Linked DNA regions of Homo sapiens: regions 2, 3 and 4 are each linked to region 1. Evidence: promoter capture Hi-C in human tissues and cell types (Jung and others, 2019). All regions are on one chromosome and are shown on one strand. Each heading gives the region's core, a stretch centred on a gene start or on the middle of the fragment in contact. The rest is flanking DNA. Distances are from core to core; before and after follow the strand shown. Region 1 holds the start of CCDC85A (coiled-coil domain containing 85A). Region 2 has its middle 860 kb from the start of CCDC85A. Region 3 has its middle 630 kb from the start of CCDC85A. Region 4 has its middle 580 kb from the start of CCDC85A.

Region 1 (3,367 bases), core at 605-3,104:
AGGCACCAGCGCTAGCTGGAAGGAGAGGAAGTTTGTGGTGCTCGCCAGCAGGGCGGTTCCCGGCCACTAGTGTACTGCAGCTGGGCAGGCACACTCCTCGCAGACCCGGCGCTCTCCAAGGAGAAAAGAAAGTTAGTGGGCTTGGGGTACGTTTCCCTTCTTTTCCTAGAAGAGGGTGGCAGGGGGGCTGGCTCAGAAAGAAACCATCACTGACCAACACTTGGGGTACTCTGTCAAAATGCTGCTCCTTCCATACTGAGTCTCTTTGCTCCTCCTCTTTCCCCCAGTCAACCTGGGGTTAAGTGGGAAGGGGAGTAAGGCAACTCCAGGGGATGCCTTCCAAACTCCGGGAGAGGGAAAGCACAGGAATTGGGAGAAGACGTGAAGGCAGAGCTTGAACTCCTATGTACCCGGTGACACAAGACTGCTCTGAGGGTGGCGCCCGCTGCTTCTCCCGGGCGCCCCGCCAGCCGCTCTCCCTGGCAGTGGCGCCCTTTCCTCGCCCTCTGCCCGCCCAAGAGCTGCTGGCCCAGAGCAGCCGCATTCCCGACCCTCCAAGGCGAAGATCCCCTGGATTCACCCCCTCACTGGCCTTTCCGCCTAACTGACTGAAACCCGGCTCCCCAGGCACAGATTTTCCAGCCTCCCTAAGAAATGAAAGGTTCGCGTGCCCTTCACCTCCCTCCCTGCTTTCCAGCGTCCTCAGCGCCTCCCCGAACAGCCAGACAGTGGAGCGCCCCGTGTTGGGGAGAGGAGGGGAGCAGACGCCTCCGAAGTTTGGAAAAGTTACACAGGGGCTGGGGACTGGGGGTAGGGGGTGCCGACCGGGAGAAGGGGAGGGTCACCTGTTGAGGGAGGGAGGGAAAGTTTGCCTGGCCCCGCCTCCTCCTCGGGGCACCCCGCTCCCAGCCGCGCCGCGCCTCCCCACCTGGCCCGCGCTCACCTTGAGGCCGCGGATCTCGCCGAGGTGCAGCTGCAGGCGGCGGTTCACCTCGCGGATGAGGTTGCTGTGGTCCAGCATCGCGCTCACCTTCTCCGCCTCGGCGCGCCGCAGGCTGCGGATCAGCTCCTCCTTGCTCCACTGCAGCAGCTCCTCGTCCGACACTTTGGACAGGTCCTCCACCGGCGCGGGCGGGGCCGCGGACGAGCCGGCCGGGGCTGGGGAACAACTTTCCGCCGCCGCCGCAGCCGCCGCCGCGCCTCCGGCCGCCTTCGACATGGTATCCGCGGGGTGGCAGGTGCAAGTGGGTGGAAGAGGCGAGGCGACTCCCGAAGGCGCGGGCGCGGCGAGGCCGCCTCCGCCCACACCCCTGTGCGCTCCGGCGAGTCAGCGGCACCGCCCAGGGGCCGCTGGGTTGGGGCGGCGGGGGTCGCGCTGGGTGGCCATCCTACCTCGCCATCCCCGCGCGCGCGCCCGCGCTCCCCCAGGGCCCGGCAGCCAGCCGCTTGCTGCTGCCGAGGCCCGTCCCAACTCCGCGCAAGTCCATGGTGAGGGGCACTGGGGAGCCCGGGGCTGCCGCGGGAAATCCTCGGGGACAGCGGGGGAGCTGCACCGCCGTTCCCCTGCCCTCTCCTCCGCCCTAAGCCGAGACTGTCGCCCCCCGCACTCTCTGCCCTGCACACAGGCGTGCACGCACACGCACTTTCCTCCCCCTTGCCCAGCTGCAGCCCCCGGCTTCTCCCCTCTCCTAGCTTGGAGGGCGCGCCGGGCACCGCGGCGCCTCCCCGGCTGCTCTAGCGACGCCGCCGCGGCTGCCCGAAGGCTGCTGCGCTCCTCCTGCCGCCTTCGCTGCGCCCGCGGCCGCTCCTAGGCTGCTCCGGAAAGCCTTCGATTTGCAGAGCGGAGTCGAGAAGGGGTGGAGGGTGGGGGACCGGCTGGAGGAGGAGCCTGGAGCTGGGGCCACCCGTAACCCGCAGCAGCTCCCGCATGGGCTGGACGCAGCTGCCACTCGACCGCTGCCCGGGCCCTCGAGGTGCGCTCCCGGCTGTCCTGCCCGGGAGGGCTGGGGGCGCGGCTCTTTCTGCGCCCGGGCGGGTGGGGCTGGAATGGGGAGAAGGTGAGGAGCTGTGGCCGCCCGGTCTTTGGGAGGCTCGCGCGCGCCACCGTGTGGCGGAAGAAGCTCCCTCCTCTGCCCTCTGCACACCGGCCTTGTCACCAGGCAGGGGAAACAGCTGCTGACCCAAATGCGAGGTGCTTCGTATTTGGAGGGATCGGGGATCAGGAAAGATGGGGTAGCAGGACCTGAGGGATAACCAGTTATTTGCACTTTGGAGAATGGGAGGAGAGGCAAATGGCAAAAACGGGGGTTGGGGAAAGGGGCAGCTTAAGAAAATCCAAATGGTCTGAAAAGGGCGAAAAGAGGCGTCAGGGCACTGCTCTTATGGGGCTACCCATCCCCACCCCCCACTCTCGCCCCACCCCTAGGCCTTTGTGTTTTCTAAAAATCCACTACTCTATGAAGAAGCTTCGGGAGAAGGTACTGGATCTTTTAAATTTTTATTTGAAAAATATCAAAGCCTTTAGGCGAAAATAAAATACCTTCATCTCCTGCTTCCTGAAACCTGGATTTTAAGGTCAGCACAGTCACCTCCCCTCGGAGCAAAGCAAGCCCCCTCAGGCAAGCTGAAATGCCAGCCAAGGAGATTTCCATTTTCTTCTATGCCGCAGGCTGCCAGGCGTTTACTGGGTCGGCTTTTTTATGATGGTTATTTCTGGAAGGAGGAAGTCTGAGTCCCTGGCTTCTATCTTTGGGCTATCCTCTTGTAAAGTTGGGTGGAATCGTCTCTGGGCTGAAAACATGCTTTTGCCTAAAGAGGTGGATGCCCTTGACCACCGCATGTTATTTCCAGTGGGGTACAGGGCCGGAAAATGGCAAGGATCTACCCCCACCGGGTTTCAGTTAACCCGGGTGCAGAGGGAATAATCTCTATCTGGTAGGATGATAATCAAAATCAGTCCCTTCACCCGCCGGTCAGTGCGTGTCCCCTATTGGGGACACTGAGACCTGGCTCCCGGGAGAGGCAAGGAAATGTGGTACTGCTTACGGTGACCAAATGGCCTTAACATTCCCCTCAGCTTAACTAAACTTTAGACAGGTTTCTTCCTAACTGTAGGCCCCAGACCTTCCTTTTCTCAGAGCATTTACTTTAGCCAACTTCCATTGGTGAATGTTTCCTCTGACCCTTTGACATGTAAATCTCTCCGCCTCTTGCTGGGTTTTACAGCCTGGGGATCTTTCTCAGGGATCTGTGAGGCATCCCTTTGAAATGTAATCATCAAGGAAAAAAGGGTCCCTATCTCCTAGTGTTTGTGGAGAGGAGGAGCCTAACTTTAATAAGTTCCAATTAGGAAACACAAATGGCCTCA
Region 2 (3,367 bases), core at 607-3,106, 860 kb before region 1:
TGAAGGATGTGCCTTTAGATATTGACACTGGAATGATATTTTATTTCTCATCGTTTTCATCAACTTTGGCTTCAGTTTTTAGAAAGTATACACTTATCACAAGAAAACAGCTCTGGAGTTAACATACTATGCAAAGATAGTCCACCTGCCCAACAGAGAAAAATCAGTCAAACTTTTGTTGACACTGAAAAAAAAGTACTTTTCCACAGAGGCACTTTCCAATGTACCTCTCAAAGACATGCCTTATAACAATGCTACTCTGTTAGAAGTAAGATTTCAGGAAGAAAGTGTTTTCCTCTGGGACTGTGGTGCTTTCGCCATCTACTTAATAAGTGAATTTTGCTTCTTCACAAACTATCTCAAACTCAGTTAAGAAAAAGTACATTGAAACTGCTAATAAAAATGAGAAACAAAATATTTTATATGTAAAAAAATCATGAAATACTTTTATTTATGAATAAATAAAAATATCATGAAATATCATGATATTTCATGAAATACCAAGACCTAAGCTAAATGCTGTTTTTGTTGTTATTTCATTTTGTTATTAAGCTATTTTTCTTGTATATACTTAAGACATACAACATGATTTTTTTTTAACTTCCATGTTGGGTTCAGGGGTACATGTGCAGGTTGTTAGCTAGGTAAACTATTGTCATGGAGGTTTGATGTACAGATTGCTTCATCAGCAGGTTCCTAAGCCTAGTACCCAATAATTAGTTTTTCTGCTCTTCTCTATGCTCCCACCCTCAACCTTCTGGTAGGCCATGGTGTCCGTTCTCCTCTTTGTATCCATGTGTTCCGACCACTTAGCTCCCACGTATGAGTGAGAACATCAGTATTTTGGTTGTCTGTTCTTGTATGAGTTTGCTAAAAATAATGGCTTCTAGCTCCATCCACGTTCCTGCAAAGAACATGATCTTGTTCTTTTCTATAGCTTCATAGTATTCCATGGTGTATATGTACCACATTTTCTTTACAAGCCTTCTATTGATGGGCATTTAGAGTGATTACATGTCTTTGCTATTGTGAACAGTGCTGCTATGAATATATGCATGCTTCTGTCTTTATAACAGAATGATTTATATTCTGCTGGGTATATACCCAAGAATGGGATTGCTGAGTGGGATGGTAGTTCTGATTTTAGCTGTTTGAGGAATCACCACACAGCTTTTCACAACAGTTGAACTAATTTACATTCCTGCCAACAGTGTATACACACTCTTTTATCTGCAACCTCACCAGCATCTGTTATTTTTTTTATTTTTTCATAATAACCATTCTGACTGGTGTGAAATGATATTTCATTGTGGTTTTGATTTCCGTTTCACTAATGATCAGTGATACTGAACTTTTTTCATATGCTTGTTGGCTGCATCTGTGTCTTCTTTTGACAATTTTCTGTTTATGTCTGTGTCCACTTCTCAATGGGGTTGTTTAGTTTTTTCTTGTAAAATTGTTTAAGTTACTTATAAATGCTAGATATTACACCTTTGTCAGATTCATAGTTTGCAAATATTTTCTCCCATTTCTATAGGATGTTTACTCTTTTGATAGTTTATTTTGATATGTAGAAACTATTTAGTTTAATTAGTTTATATTTGTCAATTTTTGCTTTTGTTGCAATTGTTTTCGGTGTCTTAGTCATGAAATCTTTGCCAGGGCCTATGTCCAAAAAGGTATTGCCTAGGATGTCTTCCAGAGTTTTTTTTTAATATAGTTTTGGTTTTACATTTAAGTATTTAATCCATCACGAGTTGATTTTTATATATGGTGAAAGGAAGGGGTCCAGTTTCTGCTTTCTGTATATGGCTAGTCAGTTATCACTGCACCATTTAGTGAATAGGGAGTCCTGTCCCCACTGCTTGTTTGTGTCAGCTTTGTCAAAGATCAGATGGTTGTAGGTATGCAGCCTTATTTCCAGGCTGCCTTTTCGGTTCCATTTGTCTATGTGTCTGTTTCTGTACCAGTACCACGCTGTTCTGATTACTATAGCCCTGTAGTGCAATTTGAAGTTGGGCAGCATGATGCTTTCTGCCTTGTTCTTTTTACTTAGGACTGCCTGGACTATTCGGGCTCTTTGTTGGTTCCATATGAATATTAAAATAGTTTCTTCTAGTTCCATGAGGAATGTCAAAGAGGACTATTATGAACAATAGTATGCCAAAAACTTCAATAACCTGAAAGATAGGGTTAACATTCTAGAAACATACATTCTGAAGACTAAATCAAGAAGAAATAGAAAGCCTGAAAGATAAATAACAAATAAAGAGATTGAAGTGGGAATCAAAAACCTTCCAACAAGGAAAGCTCAGGGTCATATAAGTTCATGACTGAATTATATCAAACAACGAAATAAAAATTAATACCCATCTATCTTAAAATGTTCCAAAAAATAGAAGTAGAGGGAATATTTCCAAACTTTATTATATGAGGTGAGCATCACCCTTACATCAAAATCAGACAAAGACATCACAAGAAAAAAAAAAAAAACTACAAGGCCAATATATGTATATGCTTTCAAAAATAATTAAATACTAACAAGTTGAATTCAATAACACATCAAAAAAAATTATAGGCCATTTTGTTCCCAAAATGATGACATATAAGGCAGTTGGCTTTACTCCTCCCTGCACAGAAAATCAGACACAAATATACAGTGCTGAGATTATCAGCAATATCTCAGAACTCAAAGAACTCCAAGCAGATGGTAATGAATGGGACTTCCATACCCACAATGTCCCACCCCTCAATCTGCCCAGCATTAAGTGTGCAGAAAATTTATCTCTGACTCATGGTGTCTATACTGAAAACAGCAATAGTGATGTGGACAACCAGACTTCCCATCATCTGGGATTTCCTGGCAAGAAACCAGTTCCTCCCTCAACCGACAGGAAGCATCAGAAGAGCCTCAAGACAGAAATGTTCTAAAGAACAGCCAGTGACAAACGGGAGAGAGGAGACTACCATCCCCAGCCCTGGAAACTCTTCTCTATAACTTAGCCAAAGGAGATATCAAATCAGAGTAGCTGTTCAGTAGTACCATACTATAGAAGATATGTTCCACAGATCCTCTTCATATGAATCCATAACCAGCCTTCACACAACATTTGGATATCCACAAAAGGACCTCTCTCATTCATGACAAGCAGTACTCTGATCATTTACTAGAGCTGAGACAAACCTGGGCTTAAGGCAGCATTGAGTGCCAAAAAGAAGGTGACAACCTGGCAGAAAAATAAAAATGAATTCAAAAGGTAAATTACAAAGACTCTCTAAGCAAATATATTTGATAAAAACCTAAACAATCTGGACAGAGAACGCCTGTAATCCCAGCACTTCGGGAGGCCAAGGCAGGCGGATCACA
Region 3 (3,367 bases), core at 324-2,823, 630 kb before region 1:
ATGTTTGTTCTTTGTCCATAAATGAGATCATAAATGAGAAAATAAATCTTTGATAAGCCACAGGTTCAGATAATTGTCCCTTAAAAAATCATCACCGTAAATATGACTACTCTTCTTAGGTATAACAATACAAACTGGTTGAATTTTTTTTCCTTTTGGAGATTTCATTTTTTAGAGTAATTTTTAGGTTCTTAGCAAAGTTGAACAGTAACTACTTAGAGATTTTTATATATGCTCTGACTACACACATGCCCAGTTTCCCCCACTATCAACATTCCCTCACCAGAATAGTACATTTGTTATAATCAGTGGACCTACGTTGACACATAATTATCAACCAAAGTCCATAGTTTACATCAAGTTTCAGTCTTGGTGTTGTACTTCCTATGTGTTTTGCCAAAAGTATAATGACAGGTATCCACCATTATAGTATCATGCAGAATAATTTCACTGTCCTAAAAGTCCCTGTGCTCTGCCTATTCATCCCTTCTTCCCCCATACTCTGGCAACTACCGGTCTTTTTACTGTCTCTATAGTTTTGCTTTTTTCAGAATGTTACATATGAAATACCACAGTATTTAGCCTTTTCAGAATGGTTTCTTTTACTTAGTAATATGCATTAAAGTTTTCTCCATGTCTTTTCATGGCTTGAAAGCTTATTAATCTTTAATAATGAATAATATTCTTTTGCCTGAACGTATCACAGTTTACCCATTCATCTACCAAAAAACACCTTGGTTGCTTAACTTGTTACATTTTAACTTTATTATAATCCTAACAGGCAGAGGAAACATAAAAAGGGCATAAGATTAGGTTAGGAAAAACCATCACATTTTTTTTTACTTCTTTCACAACTACCTGCCTTTCCACATAAAAATATAAGTAATTCAAAGAACAAAGGTTCTTGTGTATAAGCTCAAGTAGATCTCTACGGGTAACTAAGGAATGGGTAACTGTTCATCAGTGTGAAAATACAAGAGGTAAATTTATACAATGCAATTTCAACCCCCCCAAAAATTGTTATTACCACAAGAAAATGTAATTTGTTTCTGAATCTTCTGTCTTCCCTTGCTTCTTAATAAGAATGATGTGTTTCTTTTGTGAGTAAAGAGACAGCAGGTTTCCTTAACAATTTAATCAGGTGATTAAGGAATAGTCATCATCTGATACTTTTAGTGTTCTGAGATTGATCTAAATCAAATTATTCTTTGTTAATAGATTATGAACAAAATGATAGAATGAAACAGGAAAGTCTCAAGTCTGTCATAACCTACACATACTAATTCCAAAATCATTTCGTGAAAAATATTTTAGACTAACTTTCTCCTTGGTAAATAATATGTCTGTTTATGTAACTATTAGTCATACTATTTGGAAGTGACATACATTTTTTAGTGTTTCCTTGAGGCAAATTTTCATGTCTGAACTCTAAGATCTAATCAGTTTCATCTGATTCTGAGACTAATTTTGAAAAATATGTTTCAATGAATAATTACATATAAGCCCTCAAAATTATCCTTACTGAAACTGAAAGAATCTGCCAGCAAGAAAATAAAAAATATGAACTTCTGACAGATCACAAAAAAAGTGTTTTTTTCTTTGACCTTTTATTCCAAACAGCTAAGACATGAACAGCAATGAGACGAATTTTTTTTAATTATAATAAAAAATGTTGAAAGATTCAATGGAAGACTTCCTTTTCTTTGTATTTATATCTCTGAAAACAAGAAAAAATTGCAAAGTAATATTTAGGCAAGATTGACATTTGAAGAGCTACTTGAGTAGTGAGAAGATTTGGAGAGAATGTCTGAGTATGTTCATTTAAGGGAAGCTTAGTGAAAATAATTAGAGTCATTTAATAAAGGAAATTGAAATCCTTTTATAACCTTTCCCTTTACATTCACTCTGTTACTATTTCTTCCAGTGAGATGGAGAGAGACTAGAACTACTTGGGGAAAAGTTTAAATGTCTAATGGGAGATTATTTTTGGTAAGAGATTAATTATACTGTAAAATAATTACTTAGTAATAAAAGGAAGAAAAGAAGGCACATTAGTAATGGCCTTCATTATCTTATTCTGTACTCTGGCCTCAATCTTTTTGTCTCTTGATTAGCTTTGATGTTCACTCTTACATTCATTTAATTCAAAATTTATGAACTAGTACCTTTTCTCTTTCATTTTATCAGTAGTTTCATTCACAGAATGAGATCATGACAATGATTTTTTTTTTTTTTTTTTTACCATCAAATCTATTTGTTCTGGGAGACATTTGTGGGATTACCAGGTCTCTCATTACAAGTCCAAGTAATTGAGAGAGAGTTACATGGTCACCAAGATCCACTTGAAGAAGACTATATCAGGAGTCTGGAAGGGAAACAAGACTGAGTTGCAGCATATAAAACAGAGTCAGTCCAAGAGATAACAAAAGTGAAATAAAGAGCTAGGCAAATAGCCAAATCTATGTCATTGTGTTCATGCTGCTGATAAAGACATACCCGAGACTAGGCAATTTACAAAAGAAAGAGGTTTAATTGGACTCACAGTTCCATGTGGCTGGGGAGGCCTCACAATCATGGCAAAAGGGAAGGAGGACCAAGTCACGTCTTACATGGATGGTGGCAGGCAAAGAGAGCTTGTGCACGGCAACTCCCATTTTTAAAACCATCAGATCTTGTGAGATCCATTCACTGTCATAAGAGCAGCACGGGAAAGACCTGCCCCCATAATTCAATCATCTCCCACCAGTTCCCTCCCACAACGTGTGGGAATTTGGGGAACTACGAGATTTGGGTGGGGAAACAGAGCCAAACCATATCAATCATCAATCTGAAATAGGAAGGAATGGCAAGGAGTTTTCATCTTACGTGACATTCTCTATAATGCTGGAAGATGCTTAGATTGTGACAAAGAATGTGAGGTTACAGCAAGTGCAAGGTAATAGAGCAGTATGATTAATCAGCTATCACTCTCCCAGATAAAAGAGTAAGCCATAACAAAATGTGCCAAGTGTTTGTGATACCTTACCAAGGGGAGAATACACAATGGAGACCAAGAAACCTCCCGTTTTCTATGTGGGTGGACAGTATTTCTGCCTAAATCAAAACTAGAGAAAACCTCTGCTTGACTTCACAGCATCCCACCTGACAAACCATGGACTTGAGTCATTTTTTTTCCCATTAGCCTATTCTTCTATACTATTTTTTTCATATTGGAACTAACTTCTGATTAGGCAATAGTTCTCCATATACTAACAGGTTAATGAAGTATCAAGTCAGGGATATCAAGAATACAAGCTTTAATGACTGCAAAAGTGACTTTTCTGGATGGAGGTGTTGTGAAAAATAACAAGTGAAGTTTACTATAGGA
Region 4 (3,367 bases), core at 466-2,965, 580 kb before region 1:
AGAGTATGAAAATTTGGAAGAATAATGTAGAACATCTGATAAAACATTTATCTATATATCATTATTAGTCTCTATTTCTCGTCTTCAATATCAGGGCTCAAATTTTCTTCTTCAGGGGTTTAATTACTATGAATTTAAGCAACTATTTAGATAGAGGAAATTTAAGGCATTGAGATATTTTTCTAATGTATTGTACATGAAACAGATACTCTATAGATCAATGGTTGTTAACTTATTATTTACATTTGACTTTCTATGGAGTCGACATGGCCTCTCTCTTTGAAAATATATCATTTAAATTAATATAATACATTTTAATATTTAAGGTTAATAATTCCAAGAAACCTTTTAAAGCCTAGCCCCCATTAGTATAACTCCTTTAAGGGGCTATTTTCAAGAAAATCTTCTAAGGTAAGATTTCCAAATAGGATGTAAAAGATGAAAGTTTCAAAGTTGTTAATGTTTTGGTCTGCGGCCAAAGAGCTATATGTTATCTACTTATTCTGGGAAATAGAGAACAGTTAGGGTAGAAAAAAAAAACAAAAAAACAAACAAACAAACAAACAAAAAAAACACCATATGGACAGAAAGAATGGGTATCGATGTGTTGGGACAAGAACTGAGAATAAAGAAAGAATGAGTCCTGTTGTAGATACTAAAGGTTTCAGATCTCATTTTCAAGCTGCCTCTTACTACTTACAAATATTTACATAATTTGGCTCTTTCCTTTAAAAAGTATACTAATTTTGTAGATGTCGTCTTACACACACATTGGAGTAAACTAGGTAAATAATAAAACACTGATAATTTAATAGTAAAGCATGAAGGGAACATAGATTTAATGTCTTATTAAATATGGCAGCCCATTGTGTTCCATGACCTCAACCTAGAGGGCATTTCTTTCCCCAAAAAGAGTCAGAGCAGGACTTGTAACCTGAAATGTCTGCCTGAATAGCACAGACAAATCATTTCACTCTAGGGCAGCCATCACCTTTTCCCAAACATATACTAGAGGAGAGAAAATCCCATAACATCTGGCATCCCTCACACCTGTAAAACAAAATTAGACAAAATATGAAGTAATCCCATAGGAATATAGTTGAGAAACTAAGAAATTGCAGAAATAGACTGAAATAAAACTTGCAATGGCTCTCTAAACCTAGCTTCTATCAAGGTGGAAGCTAGAAAATTTGATTTAGATGTCACGTCAGGACAACAAAAGACCATACAAAGAAGACCATGACAGAAGCACTTCCCGGGACTTGACACGGGTGAATTTCACCAATTTCTTAGTAAAGAGAAATTGGAAATATTACCGAAACAACTATGTTTGCTACTAAGTATTATTCTAATCTTTCTATCAACATACACAGAAGTTGACTATTTAGTAAATCATGTGTTATTTATACCATAGTATAGTTTCATTCATCAAGTAACTCATTTGTTGGTGCAATAATTCTAAATTAAATATATTCTTCCAGGGCTGCTGTCTGTACAAGCCCAAAGTCTTCGTGTTATATTTACATAAATACAACAACAATCAACTTCCAAAGATTCAAGGAAGGATTCTCCATACTATTTTTTAGTTCAAATCGAAGTATTTCAGGCCTAAATATTCACTTAAAGTTGCTATAAAGGTGAGAGTTTCATGTCTAACCCATGGATACGTATACAGCATTTTAAGCTGATTACTCAAGATTCATAAATCTTTCCCTAAAAAAGTTAAACAAGAGAAAATCCTAGCCAAATCCAAACTGGTAAACATTTCTACAAATTTTTACAACTTCATTTTGCTCATCTTGCTGTCTTAATAAATCAAAACACAACAAGAAATTTTGAAATTCACCACTATGATAATCTTTATGATGACTGAAGGTGTAAATTTAAATGCTAAAGTAAAAACTCCAGGTAAGGAATTTGCTGTTTTCTCACACAATTTTTCTCCCTTGCAAAATATCCCCCTACCACTCAATTGCTCTGCAATCAAATGCACAGGAATGAAACTTAGCCTTTTAAAAAATTAAACCACTAATAAGAAGTGAGTTATCTTTCTGGGGGAGATTTTGGCTTCTTCTAATCTGGAAACTAAAGTGCTTTTGTGTTAAAAAAAAATCTATAAACTGGAGATTGGAAAAAAGCCCTTGTAGGTTTTGAGATAATAGTTATCTGGTTCTTGTCTTGAGAAATGGTACTTCTTCTTTCTAGATCTGACTGCTTTATGACTTGTAAAGATACACTGTTTTACTTTTTTAACATACTTTTTTTATTATACTTTAAATTCTGGGATGCATGTGCATAACCTGCACGTTTGTAGCATAGGTATACACGTGCCATAGTGGTTTGCTGCACCCATCAGCCCGTCATCTACATTAGGTATTCCTCCTAATGCTAATCCACCCCCAGCCCCCGACCCCCTGACAGACCCCAGTTTGTGATGTTCCCCTCCCTGTGTCCATGTGTTCTCATTGTTCAACTCCCACTTATGAGTGAGAACATGCAGTATTTGGTTTTCTGTTCTTGTGTTAGTTTGCTGAGAATGATGGTTTCCAGCTTCATCCATGTGCCTGCAAAGGACATGAACTCTTGCTAATTTATGGCTTCATAGTATTCCATGGTGTATATGTGCCACATTTTCTTTATCCAGTCTATCATTGATGGGCATTTCGGTTGTTTCCAAGTCTTTGCTATTGTGAATATTGCTGTAATAAAAATACGTGTGCATGTGTCTTTATAGTAGAATGATTTATAATCCTTTGGGTATATACCCAGTAATGGGATTGCTAAGTCTAATGGTATTTCTGGTTCTAAATCCTTGAGGAATAGCCACACTGTCTTCCACAATGGTTGAACTAATTTACACTCCCACCAACAGTGTAAAAGCTTTCCTATTTCTCCACATCGTCTCCAGCATCTGTTGTTTCCTGACTTTTTAGTAATCGCCATTCTAAATGGCATGAGATGGTATCTCATTGTGGTTTTGATTTGCATTTCTCTATTGACCAGTGATGATGAGCTTTTTTTCATATGTTTGTTGGCAGCATACATGTCTTCTTTTGAGAAGTGCCTGTTCATATTCTTCGCCCACTTTTTGATGGGGTTGTTGGTTTTTTTCTTGTAAATTTGTTTAAGTTCTTTGTAGATTCTGGATATTAGCCCTTTGTCAGATGGATAGATTGCAGAAATTTTCTTCCATTCTGTAGGTTGCCTGTTCACTCCCATGATAGTTTCTTTTGCTGTGCAGAGGCTCATTAGTTTAATTAGATCCCATTTGTCAATTTTGGCTTTTGTTGCAATTGCTGTTGGTGTTTTAGTCATGAAGTCTTTCCCCATGCCTTTGTCCTGAATGGTATTGCCTGGGTTTTCTTTT

What was found. Contacts are between HindIII fragments. The study calls those that stand out against the background at their distance.
Region 2: a contact is called between a fragment that was not itself captured here and the fragment with the promoter of CCDC85A in region 1, in 1 of the 25 tissues and cell types used here (lymphoblastoid cells).
Region 3: a fragment that was not itself captured here is called in contact with the fragment with the promoter of CCDC85A in region 1 in 2 of the 25 tissues and cell types used here (H1 embryonic stem cells and mesenchymal stem cells).
Region 4: a contact is called between a fragment that was not itself captured here and the fragment with the promoter of CCDC85A in region 1, in 2 of the 25 tissues and cell types used here (dorsolateral prefrontal cortex and lymphoblastoid cells).

The regions. Positions count from the first base shown.
Region 1 is chr2:56,182,477-56,185,843 of GRCh38, reverse strand. It overlaps CCDC85A (coiled-coil domain containing 85A), which reads right to left and starts at 1,854. Exons shown (of 6, transcript NM_001080433.2): 1 at 944-1,854. The coding sequence starts at 1,219. LOC100129434 (a long non-coding RNA gene) reads left to right here and starts at 74. Exons shown (of 3, transcript NR_125368.1): 1 at 74-146. RefSeq lists a silencer at 1,855-2,184. The HindIII fragment of the contact is 12,191 bases long and covers 1-3,367 here.
Region 2 is chr2:57,040,751-57,044,117 of GRCh38, reverse strand. No RefSeq gene overlaps it. Among named protein-coding and RNA genes, the nearest start is that of CCDC85A, 860 kb to the right of the region's middle. The HindIII fragment of the contact is 9,220 bases long and covers 1-3,367 here.
Region 3 is chr2:56,810,651-56,814,017 of GRCh38, reverse strand. No RefSeq gene overlaps it. Among named protein-coding and RNA genes, the nearest start is that of CCDC85A, 630 kb to the right of the region's middle. The HindIII fragment of the contact is 4,228 bases long and covers 1-3,367 here.
Region 4 is chr2:56,760,439-56,763,805 of GRCh38, reverse strand. No RefSeq gene overlaps it. Among named protein-coding and RNA genes, the nearest start is that of CCDC85A, 580 kb to the right of the region's middle. The HindIII fragment of the contact is 6,668 bases long and covers 1-3,367 here.